Linked DNA regions of Homo sapiens: regions 1, 2, 3 and 5 are each linked to region 4. Evidence: promoter capture Hi-C in 16 types of primary human blood cells and fetal thymus (Javierre and others, 2016). All regions are on one chromosome and are shown on one strand. Each heading gives the region's core, a stretch centred on a gene start or on the middle of the fragment in contact. The rest is flanking DNA. Distances are from core to core; before and after follow the strand shown.

What was found. Contacts are between HindIII fragments. The CHiCAGO score rates a contact against its expected background, and 5 or more counts as called.
Region 1: a contact is called between a fragment that was not itself captured here and the fragment with the promoter of TMEM30B in region 4, in 4 of 17 cell types (naive CD4 T cells, non-activated CD4 T cells, naive CD8 T cells and 1 more). The highest score is 7.1, in naive CD4 T cells.
Region 2: a contact is called between a fragment that was not itself captured here and the fragment with the promoter of TMEM30B in region 4, in 6 of 17 cell types (total CD8 T cells, total CD4 T cells, non-activated CD4 T cells and 3 more). The highest score is 8.0, in total CD8 T cells.
Region 3: a contact is called between the fragment with the promoter of PRKCH-AS2 here and the fragment with the promoter of TMEM30B in region 4, in 6 of 17 cell types (activated CD4 T cells, total CD8 T cells, non-activated CD4 T cells and 3 more). The highest score is 12.3, in activated CD4 T cells.
Region 5: a contact is called between a fragment that was not itself captured here and the fragment with the promoter of TMEM30B in region 4, in 7 of 17 cell types (activated CD4 T cells, total CD4 T cells, non-activated CD4 T cells and 4 more). The highest score is 11.4, in activated CD4 T cells.

The regions. Positions count from the first base shown.
Region 1 is chr14:61,698,175-61,701,960 of GRCh38, forward strand. All of the region lies in intron 1 of HIF1A (hypoxia inducible factor 1 subunit alpha), which reads left to right. Among named protein-coding and RNA genes, the nearest start is that of HIF1A-AS1, 4.2 kb to the left of the region's middle. The HindIII fragment of the contact is 798 bases long and covers 1,652-2,449 here.
Region 2 is chr14:61,714,502-61,718,261 of GRCh38, forward strand. The region is part of intron 1 of HIF1A (hypoxia inducible factor 1 subunit alpha); the gene reads left to right. HIF1A-AS3 (HIF1A antisense RNA 3) reads right to left here. Exons shown (of 3, transcript NR_144368.1): 2 at 2,468-2,516; 3 at 1,057-1,327. Among named protein-coding and RNA genes, the nearest start is that of HIF1A-AS1, 21 kb to the left of the region's middle. The HindIII fragment of the contact is 582 bases long and covers 2,220-2,801 here.
Region 3 is chr14:61,543,440-61,547,192 of GRCh38, forward strand. It overlaps PRKCH-AS2 (PRKCH antisense RNA 2), which reads right to left and starts at 2,045. Exons shown (of 3, transcript NR_188139.1): 1 at 1,655-2,045. All of the region lies in intron 12 of PRKCH (protein kinase C eta), which reads left to right. The HindIII fragment of the contact is 1,799 bases long and covers 574-2,372 here.
Region 4 is chr14:61,279,103-61,282,822 of GRCh38, forward strand. It overlaps TMEM30B (transmembrane protein 30B), which reads right to left and starts at 2,236. Exons shown (of 1, transcript NM_001017970.3): 1 at 1-2,236. The coding sequence starts at 2,045. The coding sequence ends at 990. It also overlaps a transcript of PRKCH not described here. RefSeq lists an enhancer at 698-1,661. The HindIII fragment of the contact is 12,699 bases long and covers 1-3,720 here.
Region 5 is chr14:61,770,450-61,774,045 of GRCh38, forward strand. All of the region lies in intron 4 of SNAPC1 (small nuclear RNA activating complex polypeptide 1), which reads left to right. Among named protein-coding and RNA genes, the nearest start is that of SNAPC1, 9.8 kb to the left of the region's middle. The HindIII fragment of the contact is 1,526 bases long and covers 903-2,428 here.

The sequences.
Region 1 (3,786 bases), core at 801-3,300, 420 kb after region 4:
TCCTTAATTTCCTTCATTAACTTTGGCCATTAAAAGTCAAGAAGCTCTCTCATTTATTAGCAAACTTTTCTCCTTATGATTCTATTTTGATTGTCCTTTTGTTTGAGGAAGCAGCATATGGTGGTTAAGAGCATAGGATCTAGAGGCAGATACCTCTGAGTTAAGGGTCCCAGCCCTTCACTTGTGAGCTTGAGCAAGTTACTGAATGCCTCTGAGCCTCTTTCCTCCTTTTGAAATGATGATAAGAATAGCAGCCATCTGAGCAGTTATTGTAAAGGTTAAATGAGATAATGCTTGTGAAGCACTTAGCCCATTGCAGGAGTCTTGATGACACTGTGTACTTGAAAATAGATGTTACCTGTTAAAATTCTTGTTTAAACTTCCACAACTCTTAAAACTCTTTTTTGCTAGTCCTTCCAGCTGTTTCCTTTAGTTTCTTTTCTGTGTCTTCATGCATCTTTTCTATCTCCTGAAAGTGAAAAGACTAACATTGGATCCAGAGCTTGAAAAGCGTTTTTTTCCTGTTACAATGGGCAAAAGAGTACATCCTTGGGTTATATTGGCACCTAGTATCAGTTATTTTTCTTGAGCATCTGATCTGCTCTCTACTCTAGTGGAGGCCTCCTGCTTCACAATTGCTCACCCCTGTGTTTTCTCCCCAAATAGAATACTGAGTTTACTCTGGACTCTAGAGTCAAACATACACAGTATTCTAGTCTTACTGTTCATTTAAGCAAGATATGTGCAAGACACTGCATTCTTAGTACTGGCAGTAAGTTAAAACATTTTTCGTCTTGATGCCAAAGTTTAGACAATTTTATAAAAATTAACCTTTGTAAAAGATAATGAGTTGATAAAATATTCTCAGTAAAGCAGCTACGTGGTAGAAAAACTGTCCTTTGCTTATGAGTTTCTCCAGAGTTAAGACCATTGGGTTCCATCTGAAGGCAAGACTTCAAGCTTGTCTTACTGGTCTGTTTTGTGGCTCAATTTGTATGAAGTCTATGCACTCTTCCACACGTGTGTATTTACTGAACTATCGAGTTATTTTAGACTGAGAAAGTATTGGAGTTCATTCCTACGGTCCACTGCAGAGCACCTTGTGCAGTTTGGAGAATGTCAACTTTTCTACCTGTTAACTTCCATTGTCTTTACTTTTAACGCCATTGTCTGTGACTCTAATGGTGTCACGGCTCAGGGTTTAGATTTTGTGGTTACATTCTATTCTTGTATGTCAAGAGTGGTGTATAGAAAGCTGAGGGGGATTATTTAGTCTCTTGACTGATTTTTTTTTTTTTTCTGAAGAACTCAGTTTATTATGTTTGGTGGTGAAATAAAAATTGATGTGCATGGATGTTAAAGATTTGGGTTAAATTGTGTGTTCATAGATGCCTTCTCTTAGTATATAATTTTTTAAATTTAGATACTTAAAATACTGTATCCCTTTATCTAAGATTAACATAAGTCTGTTTCTTAACCAGGATAAAAAAATCTAAATTTAAATGTGATGTTGGATGAGTTTCCAATCAAGAAATTGATTTTTTAAACTTTGTGACTAGTTATCCAGTGGGTGGATTTTACCCAGTGTGTGTATGTGTTTTCTGCTTAACTCTGGAAGGTTAGAAAGAGAATTTGAAACTAAGACAAGCCAAGCTTCTTGTTGCTCAGTATTTTTGGTAAAAATATGGTCAGATTGTTTAAATTAACTATAGGCTTTGGAATTTTAAAAATAATTATATCTCTTGGTCTCTTGACACATCAAGAATTAACTGTTTTGTATATGCGTTGAGTATTAATGTTCATGTTTTCTGCAGTAGAAATTTATAAACCCTTATTTATTTGCCAGACATGATCCCTTTAGAGAAATCTAGTATCTAAAACCTGAATTTTTAAAACAAAATTTAAAATTTTTGTTTCATAAAAACAAAAATGTGATTACCTCATGGCTTTTTTCTTATAGCTTTTGATTGTTTTTTAAAATCGTAGTTCAAAAACATTAACCTAAAATTTACCATCTTAACCATTTCTAAGTACTGTTCAGTAGTGTTAAGTATATTCACATTGTGCCACTAACTTCCAGAACTTTTTCATCTTGCAAAGCTGAAATCTTACCCATTAAACAACTCCCAATTTCCCCCTCTCCTCAGCCTCTGGCAACCACCATTTTACTTTCTGTTTCTGCAAATTTAACTACTCTAGATGCCTCATATAAATAGAATTATAGGGTTTTAATATTTTTGTGATGGGCTTATTTCACTTTGTGTAATGTCCTCAAGGTTCATCCATGTTGTAGCATGTGTCAGAATTTCCTTCCTTTTTGAGTCTGAGCAATATTCCATTATATGTTCCATATTTTGTTTCTCCATTCATCCAGCAACGGACACTTGGGTTGCTTCCACATCTTGGTTATTGTGCTGCTCTGAACATGAGTCTGCAAATCTCTCTTTGAAGCTTTCACTTTTTTTGGATACATATCCAGAAGAGGGATGCTGGATCATATGGTAACCCTTTTTAATTTTCAAGGAACCACCATATTGTTTTCTATAGCAGTTGCACCAGTTTACATTCCCACCAACAGTGCACAAGGGTTCCTATTTCTCCACATCCTTCTAAACACTTGTTTTCTTTCTTTCCTTCCTTCTCTTCTCTTTCTTTCTTAGCCATCTAATGTGGCAAAGTGGTAGCCATCTAATATGTTGAAGTGATTGTTTTTAAGGGCTTGTTTGTGGATAATTAACCAGCTGAAAGCTAACTACAGTTTGCCAGTGGAAGCTTTAACTGAAAGGAGAGTAAGTACCTCTAAAAGGAGAATTCAATTTTTCTAGTGACTTAGATTTGTTATGCCAGTACTTTTTCACAGAAACACTTTTTGGGTAAAATAGTGTACACCTGTTCTATTGTTGATAAAGCCCAATTTAATTAGGAAATTTGTTCTCTAAGATTTAAAACAATAATTGAAATAATGTATTTTTATTAAAAACTGTTCCCAAGATGTTAGCTTTTAGCTGTTCTGGTGATCTCAACTGTTATTTATGAGTGTTTCTTTATTTTAAAATTTCACCTTAACCGGTTACAGTTTTAACCATAAAGATTATTTCAACATATGATTTTGAAAATTTATTATCTTGTAAATGGGAAAATGTAGTGATGGAACATAGTTTACTGTATGTAGTTCTTCACTTGTTTGAAAAGTCACAATATATTTAGGCAAATTAATTTAAAAGTGTCTAGTATTTAATATTGCAATTTTCACTCATTAAGGACAGGTCCCCCGTGTTTCCCCCTTTTTTTTTTCCAAGTAGTTTGGGAGGATTTGTTTTTCCAGCTGAAAAATACTATGGTTAAAAATAAGGTTTAAAGGCGAAAGTTGAAGTCTTTGAGGGTTGGGATACGTTTCTGTTCTTAAGAGTCTTGTAAATTCAGATGCTAAGCAAATTTCTTTAAAATGATTTCTACCCTCCCCCTTTCCATTATAAAACTGGATATGTTTCAGTGGACCAAATCCCAAGTAGGCTGAATTTGAAATTTGTGGGCTGGGCGCGGTGGCTCATGCTTGTAATCCCAGTACTTTGGGATGCCGAGGTGGGTGGATCACCTGAGGTCAGGAGTTCGAGACCAGCCTGGCCAACATGGTGAAACCCCATCTCTACTAAAAATACCAAAATTAGCCAGGCGTGGTGGCGGGTGCCTGTAATCCCAGCTACTTAGGAGGCTGAGGCAGGAGAATTGCTTGAACCTGGGAGGCGGAGGTTGCGGTGAGCCAAGATCGCCCCATTGCACTCCAGC
Region 2 (3,760 bases), core at 1,261-3,760, 440 kb after region 4:
GAGAGTTACCTTCCAGTGTTTATGCCACCATTATACAAAATTCTGGAGGACAAAACCCTTCCCACTTAAAAACCAGTTAGTTTCAGAAAATCACCTCATGTTAGGAGACTGCATCATTATAGTATGTGTGTTAGCTTTAGGTATAGATCTAAAATATTTTTAATATTTTAAAAACTTAAGCCTTTCTTCATTAATTTGGCCTAATACAAGTTAGAATAACTTTAAAAATGAGTACAAACAACAAGGAAGGGCCAGGCGCAGTGGCTCAACGCCTGTAATCCGAACACTTTGGGAGGCCAAGGTGGGCAGATCACCTGAGGTCAGGAGTTCCAGACCAGCCTGGCCAACATAATGAAACCCCATCTCTACTAAGAATACAAAAATTAGCTGGGCGTGGTGGCACACGCCTGTAATCCCAGCTACTCGGGAGGCTGAGGCAGGAGAATTGCTTGAACCCAGGAGGCAGAGGTTGCAGTGAGCCGAGATCGCGCCATTGCACTCCAGTCTGGGCAACAAGGGTGAAATGCCGTCTCAGGAAAAAAAAAAACAGTTTCTGTGACTGCTAGACAAATGTTGAGCAAGTAAAACACCAACAATGTTGAACTTAGATATTGAAATAGCTGCTCTGTACAAATAAAGTCTACTGGGAGTATAGACTGAATTACCATCTTTTGACTCTTTCGCCATAATGATTGGCATTACCGGAAGGGATTACCTTGCTTTGAAGAGCTGCTGGACAGTAGAGCAGAGAGCATCTATTACCATTGTAGGTGCCTTTCAGTTAGGATTTTGGATTTATAAGCAAACTCCAAGAAAGAGCCTGGTTCTGAGTTTCTCTGAATAGCTTAGGTCAAGTCCTAAATTCTGAAGCCAACTCCTATAATTCCTTCTTTATGTCTTTGGCATGTGAAGTAGGCAAATTTCGAACTTTATAATAATAGCCTAGACTTACAAATACTTGCCTTGGTAATCAGGATGAGTTTTTGAGAGACAACATAGTCTAGTGTTAATCGCGTGGACACCAGACTGCTTGAGTGAAATACAGGTTCTACCATTTATTAACGGAGTAATGTTGGGTAAGCTATTTAGCCAGGGTCCTTATCTGTAACATGGTGATAATAATAAAGATTAAATAATAGGTGAAAAATGTTTAGAATACCACTGTGTTATTAGTAAGCACCATGCATAGGTGTTTGGATTTAAAAATACTGGCAAAGGCCAGGTTGGGTGGCTCACACCTATAATCCTCGCACTTTGGGAGGCCAAGGCAGAAGGATCGCTTTAGCCCAGGAGTTCAGGACCAGTCGAGGCAACATAGATTCCGTCTCTGCAAAAAATTTAACAGAATTAGTTGGGCATGGTAGCGTGTGCCTGTAGCTACTTGGGAGGCTGAGGTAGGGAGGGGGAGGATTGCTTGAGCCCACGATTTCGAGGCTGCAGTGAGCTTATGATCATGCCACTGTACTCCAGCTTGGGTGACAGAGCAAGACTCTGTCTCTAAAATAAAATGAAAATAAAACTGCAGGCAAAAATGCCAACTGAAGAGTGAACATGAACTTTTCTTTGCATTTTTCTTGGGCCTGAGACTTTAAGAAGTGCAGGGCAGTTAAAATGATGAGATATAATTCTCACCTATCAGCTCAGCAGAAATTAATAAGATTAAAAAGATGCGTAATATATAATATTGCAGAGTGCATGGGGGAATTGATATACACATTCATGAACTGGCAGAGACAAAAATGGGCACAGAACCATTTGGAAAGCTATTGTGTATTTTAAAAAATTTCAGTAGCACATTTTTTATATCATGAAATTTCACTTCAGAATGTCAGTCCTGTAGAAATACTGACGCAAGTGCAAAAACAACAAAAACCAACTTGTACCTTCAAGGCCAGAAAGAGTTATTTCACCAAATAACATAATTGAGGTACATTAACTTTATTAGAAGTAAATCTGATAATCTGCTCACATTTTAAATAGTTATGGTTTAACTTCAGTTCTTGAAGTCACATATTTTTACAATTAGGAATGCTAACAGGCTTTTTGTGCAATACGAAAAGATGACTTTAAATGCCTACAATTATTTTGTGTCCTTTTATTTTTTTTTAATTTTTACTGACCTACTACAAAGCACTAAATATTTTATGTTCTTAATCTGAAGAACAATAGACATTCTCTATAAAACAACTCTTGCTTATTCATGAACTTTGTACACAAGAAGCTTAATAAGACGGGCTCAAAATTATTTTTCTAAATATATTTCCTATACAAAATAATTTCAAGATATAATTGTTACTTTTGTGTCTAATACTGTATGTTAAATAATAAAATGGTAAGCATGTAAAAACTACAATACCACAAAGATTGAGCTATTTTGCCAGTAGTATACTCCAACTTTAGTTCTAGAACAGTTGTAGAAATGGGTAAACAAACTGTTTTAACTGTACTCTTAACTGAAATATAGTACCTTATGCAGTAGCAGAACATATCAGCAGAAGAACTTCACTTGACCTGTACTTAAAAACAAAACAGATGCAATTTATAAAATTTAGAGAAATATAGTGACCTTATTTGCATGTGGAAAATGTACTTCTTTCTGATCTACATATCTTCTGTTGTGCAATGTAAGCAGTAAAACAAATAGTACAGGATTCATCTCTGTGGGACCTAGACCCCCTGGTCTAACAAATAATTCTTGGTCAGTACTGTAATTCTGTGGTATAAAACTGATAAAATTAGCCTTCCTGTGACTAGACAAGAAGCCGGGCAGTTTAAATGCTGAAACTCACAAGAACTTCAGAAGCTTTAGCTTTAAGCTTTAAGCTTACTTAGAAATGTTATAAGACCTCCAGTAGTCACATATGAAGAATATCATGAAGATTTTTCCATTAAATCTTTATTATAGATCCCTTGATTGGTTTCTGTCTAGACTCATTGTGTGATAAAGGACATAATAATTTTTATCACCTTCATCTAATATAGGTTTGTCAACTCTATATTAGTTGTTTTCTTGAAGGCTGGTTTTCTTCCAAAATTCAGTCTTATTTTCAGTCTACACTAGCTTTTAAATATACTGTCCTTTAGATGCTTTATCTAACCTCAAATTTCTAATGGATTTGTCTTAGACACTTATTGCCACTCCTTAGATAGTCATTGCTATCTTTGAAGTTCTGGACGATACGTGTATTACAGAGGAACTGGAGACATTCCATCACCATAGTTAGCTTGATTGGATACCCTTTAAAAGCATATACTCGCGCCTGTAATCCCAGCACTTTGGGAGGCCGAGGCGGGTGGATCACTTGAGGTCTGGAGTTTGAGACAAGCCTGGCCAACATGGTGAAACCTGTCTGTACTAAAAATACAAAAATTAGCCTGGCATGGTACCACATGCCTGTAATCCCAGCTACTCAGGAGGCTGAGGCAGGAGAATTGCTTGAACCTGGGAAGTGGAGGTTGCAGTGAACCAAGATCTTGCCATTGCACTCCAGCCTGGGTGACAAGAGCAGAACTCCATTAAAAAAAAAAAAAAGCATATATAGCACATATTATAAGGTTTTCAATTTTTTCACCAAGTGTTTCATTTGGGTAGTCATTTATTGGTAGTTTACATCAGTTGAGTGGTTCAGAAAAAATACAGTAAGTTGCTTATAAAATTCTGAACACTTTGGCCAGGCACAATGGCTCAAGCCTGTAATTTGAGCCCTTTGTGAGGCTGAGGCAGGAGAATTGCTTGAGCTTAGGCGTTCAAGACCAGCCT
Region 3 (3,753 bases), core at 795-3,294, 260 kb after region 4:
GTCAGTTTGAGACTTACACTTGGGGTAGAATCCAGATTTTCCACCCTGGTCCCCTCACTCACTCTGTGCAGCTTATAAAGTGCTTTTCTTGGCCCTAGAAAACATTCTGCTTCCTTTAGTAAATGTGTGCAGAATATTTCATGAAGTCACATTATTTTCCTCTTTGGCCGACTTTCCCTCTTGGATCACAGTCAGGGAGAAAGTCAGCTGAGGTGAGGCAACTTTTCAGTGTGACCTTAAATGTGGATGAAAGTGATGGCCCCGAGGAGCACAATTGTTAACTTACTGGCATTTGGGTCCCATTAGGGACATAAGCAAATAATGAAAGTTTTCTGCAAAAGGATTATGCTGTCACCATTCACAGCAGTAGGAACAGAGAGTTTAGGGAAAGGCCTGTGCCCAGCCTAGGATGGCAAGCTATCCACCTCCAACTCCACACCATCTGCACCAACGTGAACTGTGAAAGATTTCAGGCCTGGGACTAATGTTAAATGTTCCCTTAACTCCTCATCTCCACATCACTGGACGGGGGTAGTGGTAGAAGGGCCACCCCACCACCACCACAACACACAAAGCTTCTACCCCCTTAGTATCACCCCGGACCCTCCTTCTCCCGGTCCTGGTTTCTGTTTCATGGTATTCATCCTCCTCTGGCCTCTTCATGGCATCCTCCAGCTGCCACTCTGGCTGCTTCTCACCCTACACCAGGGGTCAGGAGCCATGAAAGTCCGTGAGTGATACCAGCCAGGTGGGAGGTGATAGGGAGTGGTGGGGCATGTGACTGACTGGGCATCTGGTGCCCCATGAAAAGCAGAAGCCCCTGCTCAACTCCAGGCCGTTTCTATGAGAGGAGTGCAGGCCCAGTGTTCCCGAGTATCTCATTTTCCACGAGAAGTTGGAAAACCTGACTTTTCATGTGATGTGACATTTCCTAGCGTTTAAATATTTGAGAAGTAATTAAAATTATTTCAAAACACACTAGGTAGGCCAAATAAAATGTGTCTGAGACCTAGGGCTGGTATCAGTTCTAGTCTGTCTCTGTCACTTTCCACAATCTAACCTGCCCTCCCAGCTTCAGTGGTTACTCAAATTTCAATGTCTCTGAGCGTTAGATGGCCAGCCCTGGCCTGCACCCCAGATTTACCCTAGAATTCATCTGCATGTGGGTGCCCACACACCTCCAATGCAAAGCGGAGCCCATCAGCCTCCCAGATTTGGCAGACTGTAGGATCTCAGTAAGTGTGAGCTATTTTTGTCTTTGTTCCACTAACAAAAATACTACTACTACTAACACTGCTACTAATACTCATGCTACAAAGAATAATCTCTTGCCCCTCTTTTGTTCCATTTCTGTTACTCAACACCACTGCCCCATCAGGCAGCCAGGGAGGACCCTGTGATCTTGGACTCTTCACTCCCATTCCCGGCAGTTAGTGGATTGTGTTTATTCTTCCACGGCCCTCTAGAATGTGCTTCCAACTCTTCCTTCCAATTAACTAGAAACTCTCCTAGTTGCTGAACTTGTCATGTGTTCTCAGCTATTGTCTCAGCCTCTAACTGCTCACCACCAGGCGCTACCTCTGCATTTAAGATTTATTCATCACGCTGTGGCTAGTGTCATCCCCTAAATTGCCGTGCAGCTCTCATCACTCACCTCGGATGGATCCCACCGGCTGCCCCCGCAGTTCCTCAGCCATCCCTGCATGCCAGCTGTACCAGGCACTTGTATGCCTCTGCATTTGTGCTGGCTGTGTCCTCAGGCGCATTTTCTTCCTTCATGCCTACTATGTTAATTCTGTTCGTCCTCATCTCTGGTCAAATGCCACCTCTTCCACGAGGCTGTCACTTGCCTTCCCACCACCAGCCCCAGTGTTATTTGCCCCGTGCCTCTTCCAAGCTCTCACAGCACTTGATCTAAGTCTCTTTTCATTTCATCCGGCTGTGTATTATGAAGTTTGCTTGATTCTTCCCCCTTCTCTTGATTAGCTCCTGGATGAAGAGACACTGTCTTTGTCATCTGCGTATCCCCAAGAAACCCCTAGTGTGCTGCCTTACATGTAGTAGACACCTTGAAAACCTTTGTCAATTGAATCAAAGTTTGTTTGTGTGTGTGTGTGTTTTGTTTTTTCTTTTGGTTTGTTTTTTTTGTAAGTTGAGGATGGCTGCATCTAAAGGGCTCAGGCCAAGGTATTAAAAACAAAACTGCTTGGTTATTCAAAAGGATTTATCAGAACCCCAAGAGGCTAAGTATCAAGCTAGTGAAAGGGTTATTCTGCCTGTCCCCAATTCCAAGGGTGCAGTTTTTAGAGGACGGACGGTCGTGTTTGGTCTACTTGTCGTCAGGCAAGGCCTCTTCCACAGTGCCCCATGGAAGCTTGGGTTCAGTGCCAGGGGCAGGGAGGAATGGGCAAGCCTCTTGGACACTGGGGCTTCAGCCACCCTGGCATATAGAGTCCTGCACTGTTTGTCTTGCCCAGAAGAACAGGCTGTACCCACCCATTCACAAGATGTCCTCTCTCACATCATTGGCAGGCCTGGGAATTTCCCACAGGCCATCTGGGTGTGTTCTGCCGTCCTGTCTCCCAAGTTTTTTGCAGCATTGTTTCTTGTTAATTAGCTCTTAGAATAGCAACTGCTCTTCCATCAGGAATTGTATCCCGTTGACTTTCCTAAGGCAAGAATCTACTCATTTCTTTTTTGTAAGCATTTTCTCCCTTCCTGCCTGCATTGCACAGGCTTACTTAGTGAGAGCCCAAGCAGTGTGAACTAACTCCTAGCTCTTACAGAACTGAGTTACTTATAATATGCATCTCCTGAATCCTGGGTGACCACTGTAAGTGCCTGAAGTGGCAGCTGCTCTGACTGGGCCTGTGCAGCTCTGAATGCTGCATTTACTTTTGGGTCCTGCCTCCAACCCAGAACCACCTGTGGCCTTTAATTCCTGTTACTAGGAGAGAGGAGAAGCGATTAAACCCTGTCAGTATATTCATTTATTAGCTGCCCTTTGAAGCTTTTTTGAAAGCATTTTACAAGGTATATCCCGTCAGGTTGCTTAGGAACTTTTGCAGCCTCCTTCTTCAACATTATCATTTTCATTTGAATCAACACTGGCAGCTTGACACCTCTGGACACCTGGCATGGCAGTGGGAGGTACCTCCAAACACTGTCTTTCCGTGTCTGCACCTTCAACAAGATTTTCTCTGTAAATTCAGCTCCAAAACAATTTTTATAAACACAGCATTACTTTTGTGTTGTTCACAAATCAGATTTGGAAAGAGGTGCTTGGGGACTGTCATGAGTCTATTTAAAGATAACCTGATTTAAATAAAAACAAAAACAAAACTTTTTATCCAAGGCAATTTTCTTTCAATATGGGAAATTAAATTAGCTTCAGTGTCTTTGAAATTGAGAACCACACTCCGGCCATGAAAAGTGAATTATCCTGTACTAATCCTTGCTCAGGAAGTGATCAAAACACCTTTCCTGGCTATTTTGTGAAAGCAGATTTAGCCCAGCATATTTTGATAGGAGCCCAGCACTAAGGAAGTTTCCCAACTGATGGAAATACAGAGAATCTCTATGCACACATCGCTTAGCTGTGTGGCAGCGCTCGTTTTAGTTTTTGGTCTATGGAGCAATGGAATCTCAGTCATTGAACCTACTTCGAAACAGCAGTGGTGGGGGGAACATCTTGAAGAAAAGCCTTTCATCTAGAGCTATGATATCTTCGCTGCATAAAGAAAAGTGGCCAAC
Region 4 (3,720 bases), core at 986-3,485:
GTTAAAGCATTTCCTCTGAACTGTACAAACTGGCCTCACATTTTCGAGTTTCTACACAGTACCTGGCAAAGTTTGCCTGTTGGCTTTTACACCAAAATACTAAAATATCAAATGAATCACATAAACCCTGTCCTACAACTCTGTATGCCAACTAGTTTTCCCCAGATAGTAATTTTTTAAAAATTCATTCCACAAATCATCAAGAGCTTCCTACGTTCAAGGCAGAGTGCCAGACCAAACCTGGAACATCATGGTTGTCACTGCCCCTGGGAACAAATTACTATCCGAAAAAGTGAATTCAGTTGACTGCTTCAGGCCCAACCTGGTTCAGGGTCGTGATTCCCAAATTTGAGGGAATATGGGACTCTCCAGTGGAGTTTGTTAAAACACAGCTTCGAGGATCTCATCCCAGCCTTACTGTGTCTGAATCTCTGTTTGGTGTCTCCTAATCTACCTGCATATTTAACAAGCATGTTCTCCCTCACGCCTCCACGTCTCTGCAGGTAATTTGTGGGCCTCACTCTCCATTCCAGCCCACTCTCCCCGACCAAAGAAAAGAAAACCACTGTACTGTAGTGGCGAAAGCCCTGGACTCAAGATTCAGGAGTCACTTGCAGCTGCCTGATCTTTGTTACTTCACATTGCTAGGTCTCTCAATCTCTTCCTCTAATAGGGGTTTAATAGGAGTCTCCATAGGGATCCCTTCCACTCTCAGACTTGAAGAACCTCACATGGCAACTCAGTGTCGTGAAGGAGGTGGGAAGAGTTTGCAAGGATGTTTCACTCTGCAGTCAACATCCCTCCCCGCGGCAAGACAGTCTAGCAGCCCCCCAAGAGCAAGGGGGGTAATTCCCTTATCTGGTCCCCTCATTCACAAAGGGAGGAAAAGCTAGGCGAGGTTGGAATTGGGTGACGGGCGAGGAGGAGATGCCAAAAGCACCTTGCAAGAGTTTTGGCAAGAAGCAGGAGGGATCCCTGGAAAGCCGGAATCACTCCTCGTCGTCGTCGTCCTGGTCCTGGTAGCGAATGTAGACGACCAGCATGACAAAGCCGGTGAGGATGCAGAGGGAGCCGACGACCAGGTAGGCGATGCCCAGGAAGGGGTTCTTGCCACCCATCCACGAGATGCTGCTGAAGATGAGGAGCTTGTGGCCGCCGAACGCGCGCACCGGGTAGTTGTAGGTGATGTTGACGCGGTAGGCGCCCCGCGGCAGCCCGGCCGAGTAGTTGCCCTGGCGGATGCGCGCGTACAGTTTGCGGAACGTGGGCAGCGCCGCCGTGCGCATCCACACCACGAAGTCCTGATTGATGAAGCCGGTGTTGTTGGGGTCGGGGCTGAGCTCGTAGACTGGCCGGCGCCAGTTGGGCGGGGGCGCCGTGCCCTGGAAGGCCAACGCCAGGCTGCCGTTGACCAGCGGCGGGTTGCGGAACTTGACGTGGTAGTCGGTCCACCAGGCGATGCCGGAGCGGTCGAGCGGCACCTCGACGTAGGGCCCGCCGGGCTGGCGCTGGTGCCAAAGCGAGAAGGAGTCGTTGAAGAGGCTGTTGGCGATGGCGCCGCAGGGCGCGATGGGCAGGCCGGCCGCGCTGCGCTGGTAGGGGGCGCACTCGTTGACAGGGTGGCGCAGCGCGCTGGGGAGTCCGCTCAGCTGCGCGTCGTCGCGGGACACGCCGTAGCGCCGGTTGTTCTGGTAGAAGTTGGTCAGCTCGTAGTAGAGGTACACTGGGCCCTGGAAGAGCTCGGGCAGCGAGAAGTACCAGGCGCACGAGCAGGGGGGCGGCAGCGCCCGGCCCTGGCCAGCCGCGGCGCACACCGAGCAGTTACCGGTGCCCGGGTCGCCTGTATAGTCGTACTCCAGCTCCTTGATGCCGTTGGAGGAGTAGTAGAGGCCCAGGCCCAGGCCGATGAAGGCCAGGCCCGCGCAGAAGAAGAGCGGCAGCGCGATGCTGGCCGACAGCAGCGGCTGCCAGGCGGGGAGGCGCTGCTGAGTGAAGGCGGTGTTGTCGGGCTGGTGGGCGCCCCGGGCCGTGGCGCTCCAGGTCATGGCGGCCGCGCGGGGACCGACGCGCGGGCTGACCGAGTGGGGGCCCCGCCGCGGGGCGCCTCCCTCTCCGCGCCGCGCAAGCCCGGGGACTGCTCGCGGGTCGGGTTTCCCGCCAGCTCAGGTGGGTTTTTGCCCGGGCCCCTCCTCTGCCTCCGTCACAGGTGAGTTTAGTTCCAGGCCCTACGAGCAGTGCCCACACCCTCCCAGTTCCGCCTCCGCCCAGGTGCGCTGCACCCCCGCGGGTCACCGGGAGCCGCACCTCGCCCGCCCCTTCCGAGGTGAGCAGGTGGGTGTTTTTTACCTCACCTGGTAGACTCAGTCTCGCGTTTCCTCTCAGTCCAGGTCATCGGACTCCACCTCCTCTCCTAGGTGAGTGGCGGCCCCGGGCTGCCTCTGAGTGGCTCCTACCTGGCTCAGGTACCACCTTCTCTTCCGCCTTCCAAGTGACTAGAGTTCCTGGGCCAGTCTCCCGAAATCAAAAGGCGCTCCGGCCTCCAGCAGAAATTTTTGCTGAGGGCTTGCACCGTGGTCCTGGAGGCTTGAAGATTTCAGATCCTTAATCCTCTGTTATTTGCGGGGAAAAGGTGGCTCTAGACCATTTTGTCTTTTAGGTTAGCTTCACAAACCGCTTTCGCCCAGCTTTCAGTCTCAAGTTGGGAGTGTCCAGGGAATTACGTTATGATAAATCTGTTTCGAATTCAACGCCTGCGTTCAAATTTTAGCTTTTTTTTTTTTTTTTTTTTTTTTTTTTTTTAAGGGAAAATGATTTTCTGGCCAGATCACCCAGTCTGGCTGTATAACTAGGAAATGTGGAAAGTTCTCTAAAAATAAAATCATCCTTAAAAAGAATCAAAGGCTGGAGAGGTTCAGAGCCTTTAAATAACTCTTAGCTGGTGTGGAGAAACCAAGAAAGGAAAAAATGTGCTGGACTACATGTGATTTCGTTTTCTTTTCAGATTATTTGCCTGACTAGAGAAAGGCCCAATCCAAGGTCCCAGGAGACCTAGCTGCTATCCACAAAAACATCTGGAGTGTCTGGCCTAAGGAAGTAAACTACAAGGATTTATAGGATTTATTATAAAAAGAACTCAAATTAGCTCCCTATGTTGCCTGGGATTCTGGCTTTTTTTTTTTTTTTTTTAAATCTAGGTTGGTAAAACATATACAAGGGGGTATTGGGACGTTCTGATTTCTTACTAAATCTAAATCTTCCCTAGGTATTGTGTTCTTGCTTCTCCTCCAGCTTGTAAAATGCAAGTAATACAAATGTTTTCTCTATTACACTACACCTAGCATAATATATTATATTCAGGAGTCATTCAAAACCCATTGAACTTGGAAAGTTAAAATCCTTATTAAATTTAACAGAGGAATGTTGTTAGCATCTTCCAAGTGTTCAGTCCTATGCTAATTAGACAAAAAAGGACCTTTGACCTCAAGGCATTTGCAGTTTGATAGGGGACATATTAGGAGTAAGAAACAATCAAAATAGCCAATAATAGCTATGAATCATAGGGTGTAATCAAGTATCAAATTGCATTCTACAAGTCACATTAAAATTAAAAAGTAATATTGATTTAATAATGGAACATTGATTCCAGTTTGTTAAATGAATGCAAGTTGGAAACCAGGTATTATAGAAGACTGAGGGAAATTCAAGTGACTTGAATTTCAA
Region 5 (3,596 bases), core at 416-2,915, 490 kb after region 4:
ACCAGGTTGGTCTTGAACTCCTGGCCTCAAGCGATCTGCCTGCATTGGCCTCCTAAAGTGGTGAGTTTACAGGTGTGAGCCACTGTGCCCGGTCGCCCCCACGTTGCAATAACATCAGCCTGTCAGGTTGTTTGTAATTCAGGTAGCAAATTGATTTTTGGGAGCACTCTGGGTCTGTTCTGTAAAGTAACTTTATTTTTGAGCAAGGATCCTTAATCTCTGGCCTGGAGATGGTCCATGTCCCTCTCCCCCACCACATTGTATGAAAAATTGATGTCATACATATGGATCCTTTTTTTTTGAGATAGATTCTCTCACTCTGTAGCCCAAGTTGGAGTGCAGTGGCGCAATTTTGGCTCACTGCAACCTGCAACCTCTGCCTCCAGGGCTCAAGTGATACTCATGCCTCAGCCTCTCGAGTAGCTGGGACTACAGGTACGCACCACCACACTCGGCTAATTTTTTGTATTTTAGTAGAGATGGGGTTTCACCATGTTGCCCAGGGTGGTCTCAAACTCCTGAGCTCAGGCGATCCGCCCGCCTCAGCCTCCCAAAGTACTGCAATTACAGACATGAGCCACCCCACCCAGCTCATATGGATACATTTTTAGGGTGAGGTACTGTAATTATCCTCAGATTCTCAAAGGTGTTCATGTCCCCCAAAAAGGTTAAGAATTACTGTATTACAAGGAACTGAATATTCCTCAATATCTGAAGACATAGTATAATGCAGGAACTCTGGGAAAATATTTTGTGTAGATTGTTTTACTTCTACAACATTTCTGCAAAATAAGTGTTTTTAAACATTTTTAATTATTATTTTTAAAAATAGGGGTTTTTATCCGTGATTTAAAGTTGAGGAAACTGAGTTACAGAGACTAGGTTAGGAAGTAATGGAGCTAAGCTTCATACTCAGTTTTGTATGGCTGTGGTGCCTGTTTGTTGGACAGCAAAGGACTGGTCTGAGGTGGGACTGGGGTTAGAAATTTGTCATTCAACAAACAAATGAAGTGTAACAAGAACTAGGATTTTTTTTTCCCTCTAGCAGCTTAGTGAGAAAGAGGTAGGAGAGAGTTTATGTAGAAAACTAAATAAGATAAAAGTACTTTGTGTAATAGAAGGAATTTGTATTTTGTCTTTTTGGCAGAGGGGAGTCGTAAAGTTTTAGAGATTGGAGAGACATAATGTTTATGTTTGGAGTTGAGGTAAGGAGCTAGTTAGAGGGAATGGTTGTATATAGGAGAGGTAGCGAGCAAGGTTCCTGCTATGGAGGAGGTGGGTGTGTCTGCGATTGAGAGTCCATGGAGGGAGTAGCCTTGAGCAGAAGGCATACTTTTTCCTTTGAAACTTGAGGAAAGAAGGTGAGAATGGATTTTTATAAATCTTTGTGTAGAGGAGAAATAGAAGGCAAACAGACCTGATTGCCTGAACTTTAAGAGAGCATCATGGGGATCAGGGAACTGAGAGTTGAAAATGTTTGGAATAGCGGTTGTGGAGAATGGAAGAAAGATTTCGGGATACCAGAAAGTTGAGAAATGCTGATGTGAATCATGAAGAGAGAGGCATAGGACATTTTCAAACAGCAAGACATTATTCTTATCAATATTCTAATGAAAAAAGATGATCTGAACCCAGTTGGTTACAATTTCTTTTTTTTTAATTTTTGAGACAGGATCTTGCTTCATCACCGTGGCTGGAGCGCAGTAGGGTGATCGTAGCTCACTGCACCCTCAGTCTCCTGGGCTTAAGTGATCCTCCCACCTCAGCCTCCTGAGTAGCTAGGCCCTCACCACCATGCTGGCTAATTTTTTTTTCCGAGACGGTGTCTTGCTCTGTGTCCCAGGCTGGAGTGCAGTGGTATGATCTTGGCTCACTGCAACTGCCACCCGGGTTCAAGCGATTCTCCTGCCTTAGCCTCCTGAATACCTGGGATTACAGGCACGTGCCACCACGCTGGGCTAATCTTTGTATTTTTAGCAGAGGCAGGGTTTCGGCATCTTGGCCAGGCTGGTCTTGAACTCCTGACCTTGTGATCCACCCACCTTGGCCTCCCAAAGTGCTGGGATTATAGGCGTGAATCACTACGCCTGGCCCATGCTGGCTAATTTTAAAACATTTCTTGTAGAGACAAGGTCTTGCTATGTTGCCCAGGCAGGTCTTGAACTCCTGAGCTTGGGTGATCTTCCTACCTTGGCCTCCCACAGTGCTGGGATTATAGGCATGAGCCACCATGGTTGTCCGGTTTTAATTTTTCTGACTGTTGACCAATTTGGTGGTAGAATGTAAATATTTTTTCAACATATCTTTTTCAACATGCTTTTTCATTCTAAGCTCTTTTAAGTTGGGGTTGATGAACAAAGGTCTACTCTTTTAGAGTGAATAGAGAAGAGTATCAGAAGGGTCAAGCTATGAAATGCCTATACCTGGAAGCTTTTAGGAATGGAATAGTCTGTGAAGTTATCCTGGCTCTGTCGGATCTCTGGCTTGTGACATAATTGCTTTGAGAGCCTTGTCCCTTGATACTTCTGCTGGCTCTATATCTTTTGTCCTAGCATAGCCTGTAATCCATTCTCACTGATAATTCTTAAATTTAATACTTTTAAATTTTCCTTCTACTGCCTGCAACTGCTATTAAGTCTTCATTTCAGAAGATCTGAATTCTGGTCATGATTCTGCCACTTGTTCTAGTTTTGTGGTTAAGAGGCATAATAAAATGAAAAGAGAACAGGATACTGAATCAAAACATTTGACTTCTAATTCTAGCCCGCTGCTATGTAAGTAGGACCTTGAGCAAATTATTTCATTTCTGTTTCTTCATTTATACAGTTATAATAATGGACATCGTGTGCTGAGTACTCACCATATACCTGGAACTATGCTAGATGTTTTATGTATGTTATCTCACTAATTATCATAGTAACCCTGCAGAGAAGGTGGTATTTCCTTAGTTTTTTTTTTTTTTTTTTTTTTTGAGATGGAGTCTCCCTCTGTCGCCCAGGCTGGAGTGCGATCTTGGCTCACTGCAAGCTCTGCTTCCTGGGTTCATGCCATTCTCCTGCCTCGGCCTGCTGAGTAGATGGGACCACAGGCGCCTGCCACCATGCCCAGCTAATTTTTTGTATTTTTTTAGTAGAGACAAGGTTTCACCGTGTTAGTCAGGATGGTCTTGATCTCCTGACCTCATGATCCGCCCGCCTCGGCCTCCCAAAGTGCTGGGATTGCAGGCGCGGGCCACCATGCCTGGCCTTTTTTTTTTTTTTATTTTTTAAGGCAGAGTTTCCCTTTTATTGCCCAGGCTGGAATGCAGTGGCACGATCTCGGCTCACTGCAGCCTCCACCTCCCCACCTCCCAGGTTCAAGCGATTCTCCTTCCTCCGCCTCCCGAGTAGCTCGGACAACAGGCACCCGCCACCATGCCTGGCTAATTTTTTGTATTTTTAGTAGAAATGGGGTTTCACCATGTTGGCCAGGGTGGTCTCGAACTCCTGACCTCAGGTGATCCGCCTACCTCGGCCTTCCAAAGTGCTGGGATTACAGGCATGAGCCATCGTGCACGGCCCCCAGTTTTAAAAATAAGGAAACTGAGGTTTAGAGAA